Linked DNA regions of Homo sapiens: all the other regions are linked to region 1. Evidence: promoter capture Hi-C in 16 types of primary human blood cells and fetal thymus (Javierre and others, 2016). All regions are on one chromosome and are shown on one strand. The core of a region is centred on a gene start or on the middle of the fragment in contact, and the rest is flanking DNA. Distances in the headings are between cores, read along the strand shown. Region 1 holds the start of TCERG1 (transcription elongation regulator 1). Region 2 holds the start of BRD8 (bromodomain containing 8). Region 3 overlaps G3BP1 (G3BP stress granule assembly factor 1). Region 4 holds the start of TAF7 (TATA-box binding protein associated factor 7). Region 5 overlaps ZMAT2 (zinc finger matrin-type 2).

What was found. The method cuts DNA at HindIII sites, captures the fragments that hold promoters and counts their contacts. A CHiCAGO score of 5 or more calls a contact.
Region 2: a contact is called between the fragment with the promoter of BRD8 here and the fragment with the promoter of TCERG1 in region 1, in 1 of 17 cell types (neutrophils). The highest score is 6.7, in neutrophils.
Region 3: a fragment that was not itself captured here is called in contact with the fragment with the promoter of TCERG1 in region 1 in 1 of 17 cell types (fetal thymus); the score reaches 5.7 in fetal thymus.
Region 4: a contact is called between the fragment with the promoter of TAF7 here and the fragment with the promoter of TCERG1 in region 1, in 6 of 17 cell types (total B cells, total CD4 T cells, fetal thymus and 3 more). The highest score is 10.6, in total B cells.
Region 5: a fragment that was not itself captured here is called in contact with the fragment with the promoter of TCERG1 in region 1 in 1 of 17 cell types (fetal thymus); the score reaches 6.3 in fetal thymus.

What each region holds. Positions count from the first base shown.
Region 1 is chr5:146,446,044-146,448,743 of GRCh38, reverse strand. It overlaps TCERG1 (transcription elongation regulator 1), which reads right to left and starts at 1,411. Exons shown (of 23, transcript NM_001382548.1): 1 at 1,336-1,411. The coding sequence starts at 1,394. RefSeq lists a silencer at 1,043-1,122 and an enhancer at 1,041-1,748. The HindIII fragment of the contact is 4,342 bases long and covers 1-2,700 here.
Region 2 is chr5:138,177,180-138,179,879 of GRCh38, reverse strand. It overlaps BRD8 (bromodomain containing 8), which reads left to right and starts at 1,250. Exons shown (of 27, transcript NM_139199.2): 1 at 1,250-1,284; 2 at 2,213-2,309. The coding sequence starts at 1,266. It overlaps KIF20A (kinesin family member 20A), which reads right to left and starts at 768. Exons shown (of 19, transcript NM_005733.3): 1 at 678-768; 2 at 35-220. The coding sequence starts at 199. RefSeq lists enhancers at 939-1,108, 1,249-1,298, 1,006-1,300. The HindIII fragment of the contact is 9,650 bases long and covers 1-2,700 here.
Region 3 is chr5:151,772,953-151,775,652 of GRCh38, reverse strand. All of the region lies in intron 1 of G3BP1 (G3BP stress granule assembly factor 1), which reads right to left. Among named protein-coding and RNA genes, the nearest start is that of G3BP1, 2.3 kb to the right of the region's middle. The HindIII fragment of the contact is 297 bases long and covers 1,168-1,464 here.
Region 4 is chr5:141,319,442-141,322,200 of GRCh38, reverse strand. TAF7 (TATA-box binding protein associated factor 7) reads left to right here and starts at 1,417. Exons shown (of 1, transcript NM_005642.3): 1 at 1,417-2,759. The coding sequence starts at 2,157. RefSeq lists enhancers at 889-1,038, 1,049-1,108, 1,689-1,888. The HindIII fragment of the contact is 5,333 bases long and covers 1-2,385 here.
Region 5 is chr5:140,701,123-140,703,855 of GRCh38, reverse strand. It overlaps ZMAT2 (zinc finger matrin-type 2), which reads right to left. Exons shown (of 6, transcript NM_144723.3): 3 at 1,727-1,850. Among named protein-coding and RNA genes, the nearest start is that of ZMAT2, 2.0 kb to the right of the region's middle. RefSeq lists an enhancer at 577-1,119. The HindIII fragment of the contact is 916 bases long and covers 866-1,781 here.

The DNA.
Region 1 (2,700 bases), core at 162-2,661:
AGGATTTCAGATTCATCTCTGAAATAAAACAAAATTTCATTTCTGCCAAAGTGGAGATTTGTGTGTGCGACCATACAGAATCTGAAAGGCATTTTCCTCTTCTAAAACCTTGAATAACAATACCCATTTCCTTACACAATTTCATCTTAAGTTCAAGACAGTATCAACAGAGTCTTCATAATCTACCCTGCTCTTTTTCATTTTCAAACGTTGACAACAGCACAATTCAGAATGGGAGCTGAACATCTGAAATGCCATTTCTCCCATACAGAAAAAAACCAAAGTACCAAATACACATAAAGCATAATACCTCTTTTCCTCAAAAACCACTGACCAAAAGATTTCTCCAGGTCACTCTCATTTTACCAAATTTTAATTACAAACTCATAGACACTGAGGTTCCAGGGGAAAAAAAGGTCACTGCACTGTTCAAGGAAATGGCATGAGTAGTAGACGAATAGAACGCCAATTGGGATTGCAGGCTCTGAAACCTGACTGCCTGAGTTCAAGCCACTTCCTGGAGCCACAAATCCGCCTATGCAATCTTATTCTACTGACTCAACCTCCACGAGGCTGTTATCTCACCTGTAAGATGGGCGAGTAACAACTGAAGACCCCTCTGGTCTGTGGCCTGCAAAATGTTAATAGCAACTACTCCAAAGGGTGGTTGTGAGGATTAAATGAGACAAACCTAAGTAAAGGGTTTACTGGCACACGGTAAGTGCCTAATAAGGGGTTGCTACTGTTGTTGTTACTCACAACTACAGGATAATAAGGAATAAAGGGATGAAAAAAGGAAGAAAAGCCACAGAAGTTAAGAAAGGCAAGCAATGAGGGGGATGAAATGAAAGGGCAAACGTGGGGAGCCCAAAGAGCCGCGGAGGGCGTGGAGAAGGCTTAGCCAGAAGTGGCGAGGGGTACAGGGAAAGTAACTGCGGAGTGCAGAGACGTCGATGAGGAAAATCAGGCCCGCAGCGGAGCGCGGCCTGGGGACAGACTCAGGTCGGCCGAGACGGAGGCGACACGCGGCTGAGGCGGGGCCCAAAGGCGGGAGCACCGCGCCCGGCCAGAGGGCTGCAGGCCGCGAGAGGCGGCGAGGCCCCAAGAAAGCACTAGGAAGCAGCCAGGGAACGCGCAGGAGGCCCTGGCCCAGCCCGGGCCCGGCTCTCATTCAAGCCACCTTCCCCTTCCCCCTTCTTAAACCCCATGCGGTCCCGGCCCGGGCCGCCCGGCTCCGCTACCCACCGTCCGCCCCGGATCTCCACATGGCAGGTCTAGCGTCTAGCCTCTGGGGCTCTCGTGAGCAGAGATGTGAAGGAGGGCAGCGTTCCTTACCTGAGCTCCCCCGGGTTGAATCGTTCACTCTCGCCCCCGTCCCCGCCACGCTCCGCCATTACAGAGGGCCGCGTTCATCCACCCGCCGACCCGACGTCTCCTATTGGCTAGAAAAATCGTCAATCCCCAACGAGAGAGGCGGAGACAGCAGAAGTCTGAGATGCGGTTGGTCAAACTTTCCATCAATCTTCGAAATGGGGGCGATATGTTCTTTGCTATTGGGCAAGGCGCCCGCCGACTTTGAAAGCGGTATGAAGACAGCCAGTTGATTGGTGACTCGGGGGCTTTATGGGAAATGAGATTTTAGCAGTGAGGAACCGCCGGCGCCCTCTCGCGGTAAGCAGAACTAAGTCCTCCCAAGTTCGGCTCAGCCTGCGGTAGCCACGTGTCTGTCGGCTTCCAGGAGAGCCAATTGTGGAGCCATATTGGCCAGTAGTAGCTCAGGCGGAGAGCATTTCCACTGGGCAAGCCAATCAAAATCGACCTGGGCCGCGCCTAAACCGATTGCACAGTTGCTGTGGAAAGCCGCTATTTCCTAGCTTTACAGTAGCAGGAGTCTTAAGTCACCACTCAGCTCTATATCCATGTTATTAAATAATATATTATTAATTACAAGAATACCTCCCAAATTATACTAAACCGTTGCAAGCCAATAGGTGTTATAAGTTGCTGCATTAAGAAAGGTAAATTGGCGAAGGCAAGCCTCTTTGCAATTTACAGCTTAACCACGTCTCCCTCGATCTCAAAATGTGCTTGTCTGAAATTAGCACACCCAGAATACCAGACAATTCTGAATATTTATTTAGTTTTTCTAATTAACAAAAAAAAAAGTTTTGGATTTGGGGTTTCAAAGGCACAATGAAGATGAGCCCTTTTATTAAAGTCGTAAAAATATTAAAATAATACTAATAGATAAATTTTACTTGGACCTAACCATGTAGCAAACCCGGATCTAAGTATGTCAGGTACGTTAACTCTTTTAAGATTCAAAAATTGCTAGGAGGTGGGTAACATAGTCACTGTTTGTAGATGAGCTTGAGGCACAGAGAAGTTAAGTAACTTGCCCAAGGTCACACATCTACTAAATAGCAGAGCCTGGTCTTAACCCCAGTCAGCGTAGTAGCAAAGCAGCACTCTTAAATACTGTAAGCCTAAATAATTGGATCCACATAAAAACATGTGCACAAATGTTCACAGCAGCAATATTCATAATAGCCAAAAAGTATTGTAACAACCCAATGACCATCAGCTGATGCATGGTTAAGAAGCATGGTATAGGCCGGGCGCGGTGGCCCAAACCTGTAATCCCAGCACTTTGGGAGGCCTAGACGGGCGGATCACGAGGTCAGGAGATCAAGACCATCC
Region 2 (2,700 bases), core at 1-2,500, 8.3 Mb after region 1:
ACTTTCCGCCCCAGCCACTCCCCAGTTCCTTTACCTGCTGCTTGTCCTCTAGGGAGGTAGAGACGACAGAGCAGTCTGATAGCAGGTTCTTGCGTACCACAGACCCCAAATCTGCAGCTGTGGACTCAAACATGGGAGAAACTACGACATCGTCATCGGACAGCAAGCCCGCTGGCGGAGAAAGGATCCCTTGCGACATGACGGCAGGGGCAGCCTAGGTCTAAAAAGAGACCAAAAAGTGGGCAGGGAGAAGAACCTTTAGGGACAGAAGGGGCCGCGAATTTTAGGTAATAAGTCCCTTGCCCCAGGACACCGTGTCCCGCTTCCTACTTCTTTTCCCCTCCAATTATCGGCAAAGGGGAAGGGAATGAGAGAAGTTCACTTAATGAACAATTGAGAGAAGTTTGAGGCGGCATTTCTGAACGCGAACAGAAGTCCACAGACATCTGGCTCCAAAAGCAGAAGGCTACGCCTAAAGTAGGGCACCTCGCCCGCCGGTGCTGTGGAGGTGGTGTCAGGATCCCTCGGCTCCTTCTCTAACCTCACCCCAAGGACCACCGTGAGAACAGAGATGCAGCATTAAGAGAAAAACAGATGGCTGCAGCTCCGATTTCTTAAAGCCTATTCCGCGCGGGCAAGAGCTGGTAACCCGGGCTCCAGCACAGCCGCACACTCACCCGAAGACGTGCCACTTGCTCCTCCTGGGATACTGGCTTACTCACACCTAGTCGCCGAAGCTGGACTTTCGCAGCCGCAGAGCACAACTCCGCCCACGAGGTGCAGCTTTGTTACAGATACAATATTTTAAATTACGCGCTGCGTTCGTTCGGCCAATCAGATAGGGAAGCCTGCAGCTACCAATCCGCGTAAGGAAAGGGGGCGGGCCTGACTGGAATTCCAGTCGTTCGCTTCTGCTTGACCTCTGAGTTCTAATGTGGGTCCGGGTTACCAACTGTCGTGGATTCGCACTTATTTTGCCTGGGATTCTTCCAACTTAACCTTTTTCCTTGAACCTTAGACATTTCTTACCTAAGAGCCTAAAGGAAATCTTGAGGCTTCAGCAGCCAACTCCTGTCCTTCCTTAGCAACAATCTTAACAGGAGTGCACAGGGTAACTGGTTTAGGGTGCTTGCTTTGTCTTAAGGGGAAAAACGACATTTCCCAGGAGGCACCGCGAACCAACGCCGGTACACTATTTCCCAGAATTCCAGGGTTTCGGCCCTTCCAGACCGTCTCTCCTCAGGGTTGGAGACTTCGGGGCCAAGATGGCGACGGGAACGGGCAGTGAGTATCTGAGCAGGTTTTGCGTGAAAGGCCTTTGTAGATCCGAGGCTAGGCACCATATTTTTGTTACACGCTTAGGGAGTGGGAGAAGTGGGTTGCTTGAGAGCCCAGGGTTTTCAGAGACCTGCGCTCTACAGCATCGTGAAGACCAACGTTTGGGGGCCCAGAAATCTGGGGTCTTGTTTCTCAGGGAGAGAGCGGAGGTGTGAGAGAAGCAGCTTAGTGAATCCTAGTGTGTTAGGAACTCTGCGGGTTAACCGTAAAAGCACTCTAGAAACTTGGGCGTGCAGACGAAAAGATGTTATGAGCCAGACGGAGTAACCGGCACCTCAAAGAGCCATTCATTTTTTTGTCTGACGTTTGTGAGGCAGTGGAAGTGGGGTCTTTTAACCATGAGCTTTTCTTGCCACTCAGGAAATTGCATCTCGGGGATTTCAGCCATTTTTCTTTTTTTGGACTGAAAAGCTCTTTTACCCCCGACATTTGGAGTAGAGGATCTGAGAGAAGTAAACAAGTTTATGCTAAGAGGGAGGCGGGGTAGTAGGAGGGGCTGGCCGCTCGGGTTCCTGGGAAATAAGCCCTGAATAAGTTCAAACTGGAATAAAGTCCAGTATTCTTAAAACTGGGCTTTTAGGGAGAACTGCCTAATCTGACATTCCCTGTTTCTTAATAAAGCGGAGCTTCAAGCCATGGCGTTTTAAGAAATAAAATGTTAATAATTCACATGCAACGAATAGGTACCCCGGTCACTGGTGATATTTCACTTGGAGAGGTGAAAATCAAGATTTGGTTATAGTAGCTCACTTTGTCCTAACAAGTTGGGATGTTTTGTATTAGGCTTTTAGTCCTCTTTTTGGGGATTTTGGAGCTTAGCACTACAGTCTCAGTGGTTGTTTCCAAGGCTTTTTTTTTTTTCTCCCTTTCCCAGAACACAAGCTGCTAAGCACTGGCCCCACAGAGCCATGGTCCATCCGAGAGAAGCTATGTTTAGCATCTTCTGTCATGAGAAGTGGCGATCAAAATTGGTAAGGTATCTAGGATGTCAGCTTTTCTGGGTCTTAGAAATTGTTAGATACTCTTTCACATCGGTAGATTTCTATAGTTAATCATATTAAGCTGTAAGTAGACTTTCTTTTCTTTTTCTTCTTTTTTTGAGACTGAGTCTCCTTCTGTTGCCCAGGCTGGAGTGCAGTGGTGCGGACACGCCCAGCTAATTTTTGTATTTTTTAGTAGAGACAGAGTTTCGCCATGTTGGCCAGGCTGGTCTCGAACTCCTGACCTCAGGTGATCCCCCCACCTCGGCCTGCCAGAGTGCTGGGATTACAGGTGTGAGCCACTGCGCCTGGCCATGCCTGGCTAATTTTGTATTTTTAGTAGAGACGGGGTTTCACCATGTTGGCCACGATGGTCTCAATC
Region 3 (2,700 bases), core at 67-2,566, 5.3 Mb before region 1:
GGAAATCTAGGCAACCTCAGTGCAGAAACAAGGGTGTACTTAAGGCACAGCCTATGGCTTTGCATAAACAGCATATGGGAGAAGCCTGCAAGGGCAGGCAGGTGTCACATTCATACATTCCAGATTCAAAATCCCTCTAAGATTTTTCAATTAAGGAAATAAGCTGGCTATAGTACCCTATTAGGTACCACATGCTTTTCAAAATAGTTTTGACAATTCGGTTTCAGAGCTCCAATTCACTTTTTAGTAAAAGTATGGTAATACCAAAGATGTGTGAAAGCACTCTCTAAATATGCAAAAGGTTACACAAATACATAATGATGCTTTATATAGCCAGTGAAGTTAATAGCCACCAAAGATTACATCCCTACTAAGTAGATGTGTATACCATCCAGGAAGCCAAATTTCTGTCAATCATCTTTAATCTTTACTTTTGATTAAGTACCTAAGATACAACACACATACCAAGAACTTATTACATGACAGACTGGCCACCTGACAGAAGAGGGACTCTATCACAAAGTCGCCTAAAGACCTTATTTACTAAGCTACAGGCTGTGAGGGCAATTTTTTTGAAATTGCTTTCCACCTTGTAAGACAGAATATTAAGACACTATTCGTGTGTGTGAATTATTCCTACTCTTAACCCTATCACCTGGCTTGCAACTTGACCTTCCCAACTAAAGACAGACAGGATGTCCAAGAATACTTTTTTAAAAAAAGTAAATAGCTGATTTCTGAGATATAAAATTATAAACCTAGTGTGCCACCACATTGTGATCACCAACTACATGTAAGATAATAGTTGCTGAATCTAAATTCAACTCCAGGGCTTGTACTGGAGTACTGGAAGGGCAGTACTGCACTACCAGAGATTTTTCCCACTTGCTTTTGACAAATTACTGGGGGGCGGGCGAGGCTTTCCTTTTTTTTTTTGACCTACCTACTTCCACAATTATCCATTCTTCTTTGTAAAGTCAGTAATAGTTTCGTCCAAGGAAGCCAAAGCACAATATAATTAAACAAACATACAATGCCTATTTAAATTCTGAAAGTTAAAAAAAAAATCAATTTGCAAAATGTTAAAAGACCAAGTGGGCAGTTTTATCAGACTGACAAAAATAAAGAAAAAAAATATAAAATTGGCTTTAGTCACAAATGTAAGCTTTATGTTAAATTTTATCTTTTAACACTAGCCCCATCAGTCCTAAGGACGATATAAAATTCACAAACTTTTACAAAAACTTAAAACTGCCTTCTGCCGTTCACTTTCTATGCAAAATACTAGAACGAGTGGGAAAAAAAAAAACCATAAGTTACAAAAGAAAAACTGCTCTAAGTAGGTCACAAACAAACATTACCAAAATCTCCTAATGTTCCCCTGGTGCAGTGTCAGCTCAGGAACAGCAAACTGAGTTAAACAAAGAACTGTCTACTTTTCTACCTGTAAGAGGTACAAAAGCTTAGACTTTTGTACCGGTAAGCAGCTCCAACAAAACTGACGTATGACTTGGTAGGGATGTAGGGCAGCCTTGCCAAGCCTTACATTACCACAATTTGCTTCAATTCACTTGTTCCTGATAAATGCACAAGTAATCAGTTAGAGCACCAGTTTGTGAAATAATCACGTAATTTTCATGTTCCTGCCCAAGTGATAACCATTTGCCTGAGGCCAAGAACTGTATTTTTTTAATATTTTAAGTAGAAACTAACGAAATTTTCCCTCAATAATGTGTAAGGTAATTTCATTCTATTTTGCCTCAAGCAGTAATAAAATTAGCTGGACTCAAGCTTAAACAGTTTAAATGTAGGTCATTCTAGTGTTTTTCCATTTGACAACTTAAATTGCTCAACTTTAAGTCTAAGTTAAAATGCTAATTCCATAGTTAACCAGTCTGTAAGGGCAAGTAACCGGAATCGCCACACCAGCAAAGTTCCAAGTAAATGTTACTTGGAACATTATTATAATACTGTTATAGAAACATGTTTATAGAAAGGGTTTCCAGAACACGATTATAGAAATCTTTATGTTTATAGAAGTGTTTCTATAACATAGAAGATTTATTTCACTAAGCCAAGGAGTATGTTGGCTTTTAAATAATCTAAAAGATGGTAACTACTAGAAAAATATAAGCTCCAGTCCCTGAAGAAAAGCATCTTGTTTCTGCATATACACAAGAACCCAGCAGAGTAAATGCTAAATAAACGGAGTGTACACAAACTTTCATCCACAGATCTCGACTGTCACAGTTGTTTTTTCCAACACATCTCCAACACCAGTAATTCATCCAGCATGACACGCTCCACAGAGGTCCAAATAGTATACTGTAACTGGGCGCCAACCTTTCTATTCCAATTCCGTATTTTAACCCACAGATGCTAGTGAGATCTTAAATTCGTCGCTTTGCACCTCATTCCCTTCAACTATAAAGTGAATCTTCTCAAGGTCTTTCTGCAAAAGTCTCCTCCAATTAAAAAAAAAGTAGAGAAAAAAAAATTCAACGTCTAAAACCGGAGCCTAACTTCCCGCTGGCGGGAATTTCCCATCAGCAATCTGAGATTCAAACCCGATGAGGAACACAGTCCATGTTCATTTGCACTTACTCATCGTTTTCCCTACTTTTTTCCAGAAGCTACGGTGGCGGCACATCTACCCAGGGCCTGTACAAGTACACGTAGAAAGGAAGCCCAAACCCTTTT
Region 4 (2,759 bases), core at 168-2,667, 5.1 Mb after region 1:
TCAATTAGCAAATATTTTTTGTGTATCTCCCACATTCTGGTACTAGGCACTGGGACACAATGACCAGGATAGAAGAAGATCACTATCATGGAGCTTTCAATCATACAAGAATAAAGTGAATTTTGGAAATGTTAATTACATCTTAAGAGAATTCTCTTAAATTTAGGGGCAATTGTTAATATTTTAGAGGATAGAAATGAAATATTAATGGCCTTGATGCTCTCCCAGATATTTTAAAAATAAATGGAAATAAATAGAAATAAGTACCAACTGTTACCCAGTTATGTTAAAATACTAAAAATATGTGTTGATGAATACCTGACTATTGATAGAAAAGACAAGCAGAAAACAGCAAAATAGTAGAGGTGGAGTTAAAAAAAATGTCAAAGTAATTTAAAATTACTTGTACATGAGAGACAGGAAACAATACTTCAATTATATCTACTTTAACCAGATGCTCAGTCTATCAGACAATTCTGTCCAAAAGAACACTTCCTTCTCTGTTTACATTTACATCTAAATCAAGCACATAAAAAGGAATCACCCTTGTTTCCCCAGAAGTATTATAGAACACAAGTAAAACCAGAGGCACAATTCCCCTACAGGGAATTATATTTAAAAATACAGACTTTGGGCCATGCGCGCTGGCTCACACCTATAATCCTAGTACTTTGGGAGGCCAAGACAGGCAGATCACCTCAGGTCAGGAGTTCGAGACCAGCCTGGCCAACATGGTGAAACCCCTTCTCTACTAAAAATACAAAACTTAGGTGGGGTAGTGGAACGTGCCTGTAATCCCAACTACTTAAGAGGCTGAAGCAGGAGAATCGCTTGAACCCCAGAGGTGGAGGTTGCAGTCAGCCAATATTGTGCCACTGCACTCTAGCCTGGGTGACAGCCTGAGACTCCATCTCCAAAACAAACAAACAAACATATATATAGAGAGAGACTTATATAGTAAGCTGCATGTCCTCCTCACTCCATTGATTTGGGTACTTTGAAATCCATTGTATAGTAGCTACACATTCTTGTATTGGCACCAGATAGGCTAGACTCTAGGGAACATCCGAGATGTTTCCAGAAGCAAAGACGCTTACTGCAAGGCGTCCCCCATCTCCCGGAATCACCCGGAAGTCTAGAAGCCATCCGGCCCCACAGCGATCCCGTAAAAGTGCTGGCTTAGCGGGGGACGAATCTGTGTCTTTCTTGGAACTTCCAAGCTCTAAATAGTTTGAAACCAACAGCTCTTCCGAAACACTGTCATTTCCATCCCGGAAAAACAAGTTCTCGCGAAAAGATGAGTTTCACGCTGGGCAGCGTAATTGCGCTATTGCGCCTGCGCTAGCTGGGGCTCCGCCCTTCCGCCCGGAGGGGCTGTCACTCACAGCCGCCTCCCGCCCCGCGTCGCGACGTAGCACTTCCGTTTTTGCTGGGTAGGCGACCCGGACGGAGGGCCGGCGAGGTGCGGGGTCTGGTGATGCGAGCTGCGCCTCTCGGCAAGATTTCGCGCTGCCCATCCCGGGCCCTTTCATCAGTAATCGGTAGTGGATCACTCTGCCAAGCGGCAGGAAGAATTAAGGAAACGACAAGGAGACGCTCGGCTCTCTCCCGCTTGGCTCCTTGCGGCCTCCTCTTCCCTTCGCTCCGGCCCGGTGAAACTGAACTTATAATCGTCACTGGATTGTAAGTACCCGAGGCGAAGAGAGCTCGCTGAGCCCTGATTTTTTGAGTGTCTTTGTTCCGGGAGAGTTTGTGAGTTGAAAGTATCTCTGCTGGGCTTTCTGGGCCGAAAACCGTTCCGGGGGAGCCGCCATTTGCTTTCCTGTTCCCTAGCTAGCTAGCTAGCTCTCTCCGCGTTGTCCGGCAGCGGCACCTAGAGGTTGGGACTTGGCATTGCATCTGATTTAATGAACTTAAGTCTGTGAATAAGCCTTTGTGTTAACGACTGGTATTCGGTCACAGCATATTTAGAGAAAAGACTTGGAGCTTAAATAAAAACTAAGGCAAAATAGACGCTTAGCTGCTGATCTACAGAGAACTTCTTGTAATTAAAAGATTTCAATTCATAGCAAACTGGTGTTTTAAACTATTGCAGTAGCTGGAACTTTTTAGTGTAACCAGCATTTATTGGAGAAGTGAATCACAAGGAAATAAAGATGAGTAAAAGCAAAGATGATGCTCCTCACGAACTGGAGAGCCAGTTTATCTTACGTCTGCCTCCAGAATATGCCTCTACTGTGAGAAGGGCAGTACAGTCTGGTCATGTCAACCTCAAGGACAGACTGACAATTGAGTTACATCCTGATGGGCGTCATGGAATCGTCAGAGTGGACCGTGTTCCATTGGCCTCAAAATTAGTAGACCTGCCCTGTGTTATGGAAAGCTTGAAAACCATTGATAAAAAAACTTTTTACAAGACAGCTGATATCTGTCAGATGCTTGTATCCACAGTTGATGGTGATCTCTATCCTCCTGTGGAGGAGCCAGTTGCTAGCACTGATCCTAAAGCAAGCAAGAAAAAGGATAAGGACAAAGAGAAAAAGTTTATCTGGAACCACGGAATTACTCTGCCTCTAAAGAATGTCAGGAAGAGAAGGTTCCGGAAGACAGCAAAGAAGAAATATATTGAATCTCCAGATGTTGAAAAAGAAGTGAAACGATTGCTGAGTACAGATGCTGAAGCTGTTAGTACTCGGTGGGAAATAATTGCCGAAGATGAAACAAAGGAGGCAGAAAATCAAGGCCTGGATATCTCTTCT
Region 5 (2,733 bases), core at 74-2,573, 5.7 Mb after region 1:
AGAAACTCAAATTTTTAGGTAAACTTCTTTTTAGAAGTGTTAAGCCTTCATTTCTATAAAGCCTTAGCTTTCGAGAGAGTATAGCAGTCATCTTCCAAGACAGCCCCAGGATGAGCCCCACCCTCTTGGTATTCCTACTCTGTGTAGTCTCTTCCCAATTTGTACCAGAGTTGGTCTGTTTGGCCAATAGAATATGTCAAAAGTAGTATCTTCCAAAATTAGGTTATTTTAAAAACCATGCCTTCTGTCTTTGTTTGGGTTACTTGCTCTGGGGAAGCCAGTTGCTTTATTGTGAGCAGTCTTATAGAAAGGTCTATGGGGTGGCCGGGCATGGTGGCTCACGCCTGTAATCCCAGCACTTTGGGAGGCCGAGGCGGGCGGATCACCTGAGGTCGGGAGTTCGAGACTAGCCTGACCAACACGGAGAAACCCCGTCTCTACTAAAAATACAAAAAAATCAGGTGGTGCATGCCTGTAATCCCAGCTACTTGGGAGGCTGAGGCAGGAGAATCGCTTGAACCCAGGAGGCGAGGCTGTGGTGAGCCGAGATCATACCATTGCATTTCATCCTGGGCAAGAAGAGTGAAACTCTGTCTCAGAAAAAAAAAAAAAAAGAAAAGAAAAAAGAAAAAGAAAAAAGAAAGGTCTATGGGGCAAAGAACTTAGGCTTCCAAACCACAGGCATGTGAGAGAGCTTGGAAGCAGATCTTCCAGCCCCACTTAAGATTCATATGAATGCAGACCTACCTTGCCAACTCCTTGATTGCAGCTTCATGAAGACCCTGAGCCAGAACCACCTAGGTAAGCCACTCCCAGATTCCTTACCCAAAGAAACTGTGAGTGGTGTAGTTTATGCTGCTAAGCTTTAGGTTAATTTGTTAATTTACATAACAATAGATAACTAATACAGACAGGAATGGACAACAGTGGGTTTACTAAGCAGCTCAGAGAAGTGTCACTCATTGCTATCTGTGTTGCTCTCCTGCCAGAAAACCTAACTGGACAGAGAAGCAGTGGGGGGCAAAAGGGTGACAAGCTCTTGTAGGACCCTTCTTCCTATAGGTTATAGTCTTGGAAGAAGGTGTACAATCAGGCATCCATAACAACTACAGCCTTTGCAGCTAGTCTGGAACCTCAAACCCCTCTTCTTCACCATTAACAACTCCTAGGCTCTATTCTAGCTCCACCTAATTTCTCTCCTAGAAATCTCCTCAGTAGTCCTTTCCTTCATTTCTTCTTCTGACAGATCAAATAATCCCTTTTAAAATATTAATAGTAAATCAGAATTGATAACAAGTACAATGGCAATAAAAAATTTAAAAACTATATTGAGTAGTAGCTGTAGTGCTCATAGTATGATTTTTGTTTGTTTTGGTTTTTTTAATTGAGACAGGGTCTCACTGTGTTACCCAGGCTGGTCTTGAATTCCTGGGCTCAAGCAATCCTCCTGCCTTGGCCTCCCAAAGTGCTGGGAATACAGGCGTGAGCCACTGTGCCCAGCCAATGCTAATAACATGAAGAAACCCACTGAGTGACCACTCCTAGAGACACTATCATGTCAACTTGAGACCTTGGGAGACACAGAAAAACAAATATAAAGATAGAATTACAGGCAAGAAGGACGTAATCCTGGGGCCAAGGACCTTCCTTAACACTTCCTAAAACCAAAATAGGTGGCTTATTAGATGCATTCTTGGCTGCAGAGGAAAAATGATAAGCAACTCACCCTCCCATCTCAGATTGAGGGGTTGTCTTGGTAATGACAATTGTCTTCCCAAGCTTGGATTCCAAGTCCACCTTGTAGTCCCTATGCCGTAAAAGCTCTCGCTTGACAGGCTGCACTGGTTTTCCTGAAACATAATGGGGAAGGAAGTCCCTTCAATATTATAGTTCCTCAACCAGAAAGGAAAAAAAATGCATGAAATCCAAAATTCAGGTCTTACTCATTTCAAAATCATTCCTGAAAGGACACAACAGACACTTAAAGTAGCAGCTGGGGAGAATCTCAACACAGGAAGAAATCATAAGCAATCCTCAACTCTACAGCTTTTCTCCACTTTAAAGCCAGCAAATCTAAAAACAGTATGTTTTATATTCATTGATTAACTGAATTGTGGGGGAGAATTTCTGAAGAATTACTAGAAGCAACTTTTTCAAAACGGGAGCAAGGACATTCAAGAATGCTTTCAGGCAGATACCCTAGGCATAACGGAAAGGAACCTTCTGAGAGCTGGGCAAATTTATAAAAGGGGACCAACATCTAGGAAATGCCTGTTACATGTCAAGCACTATTTATTTTACATGTTACATAAAAAATGAAAGAGTTAGTGAGTGCAAGGTGGCCTGGAGGTAAAGGGAAAGAAGAATGTACACGTTTGAAACAGATGACAAAATAAAACATTTCTTTATGCAATCTCTTAAACAGGAGAGAAGCACCAACTCCCTGATGTACAAGGCACAGAGAAACAGCACTACTAAGCTCTAGCTGAAACAATCACAGATCCTGCAAAGTTCCCCGGCTTTTCTCAGACTATATGGGAGGGTCTTGATTGGGCCAGGAATGTTCTCTCCCTTAAGAAATTTCAAGGGAAAGAGGGGGGTCACTGATAGCGGTAATGCACAGCAGCAAAATACTCTACTTAACTTCTCTGTCACTACTAAGGATGCCGTTATCTTCTCTGTACTTCAGGAAAGCATTAAACGAGCCAAGCAAAGGGTGGGCAAGGAAGCAGA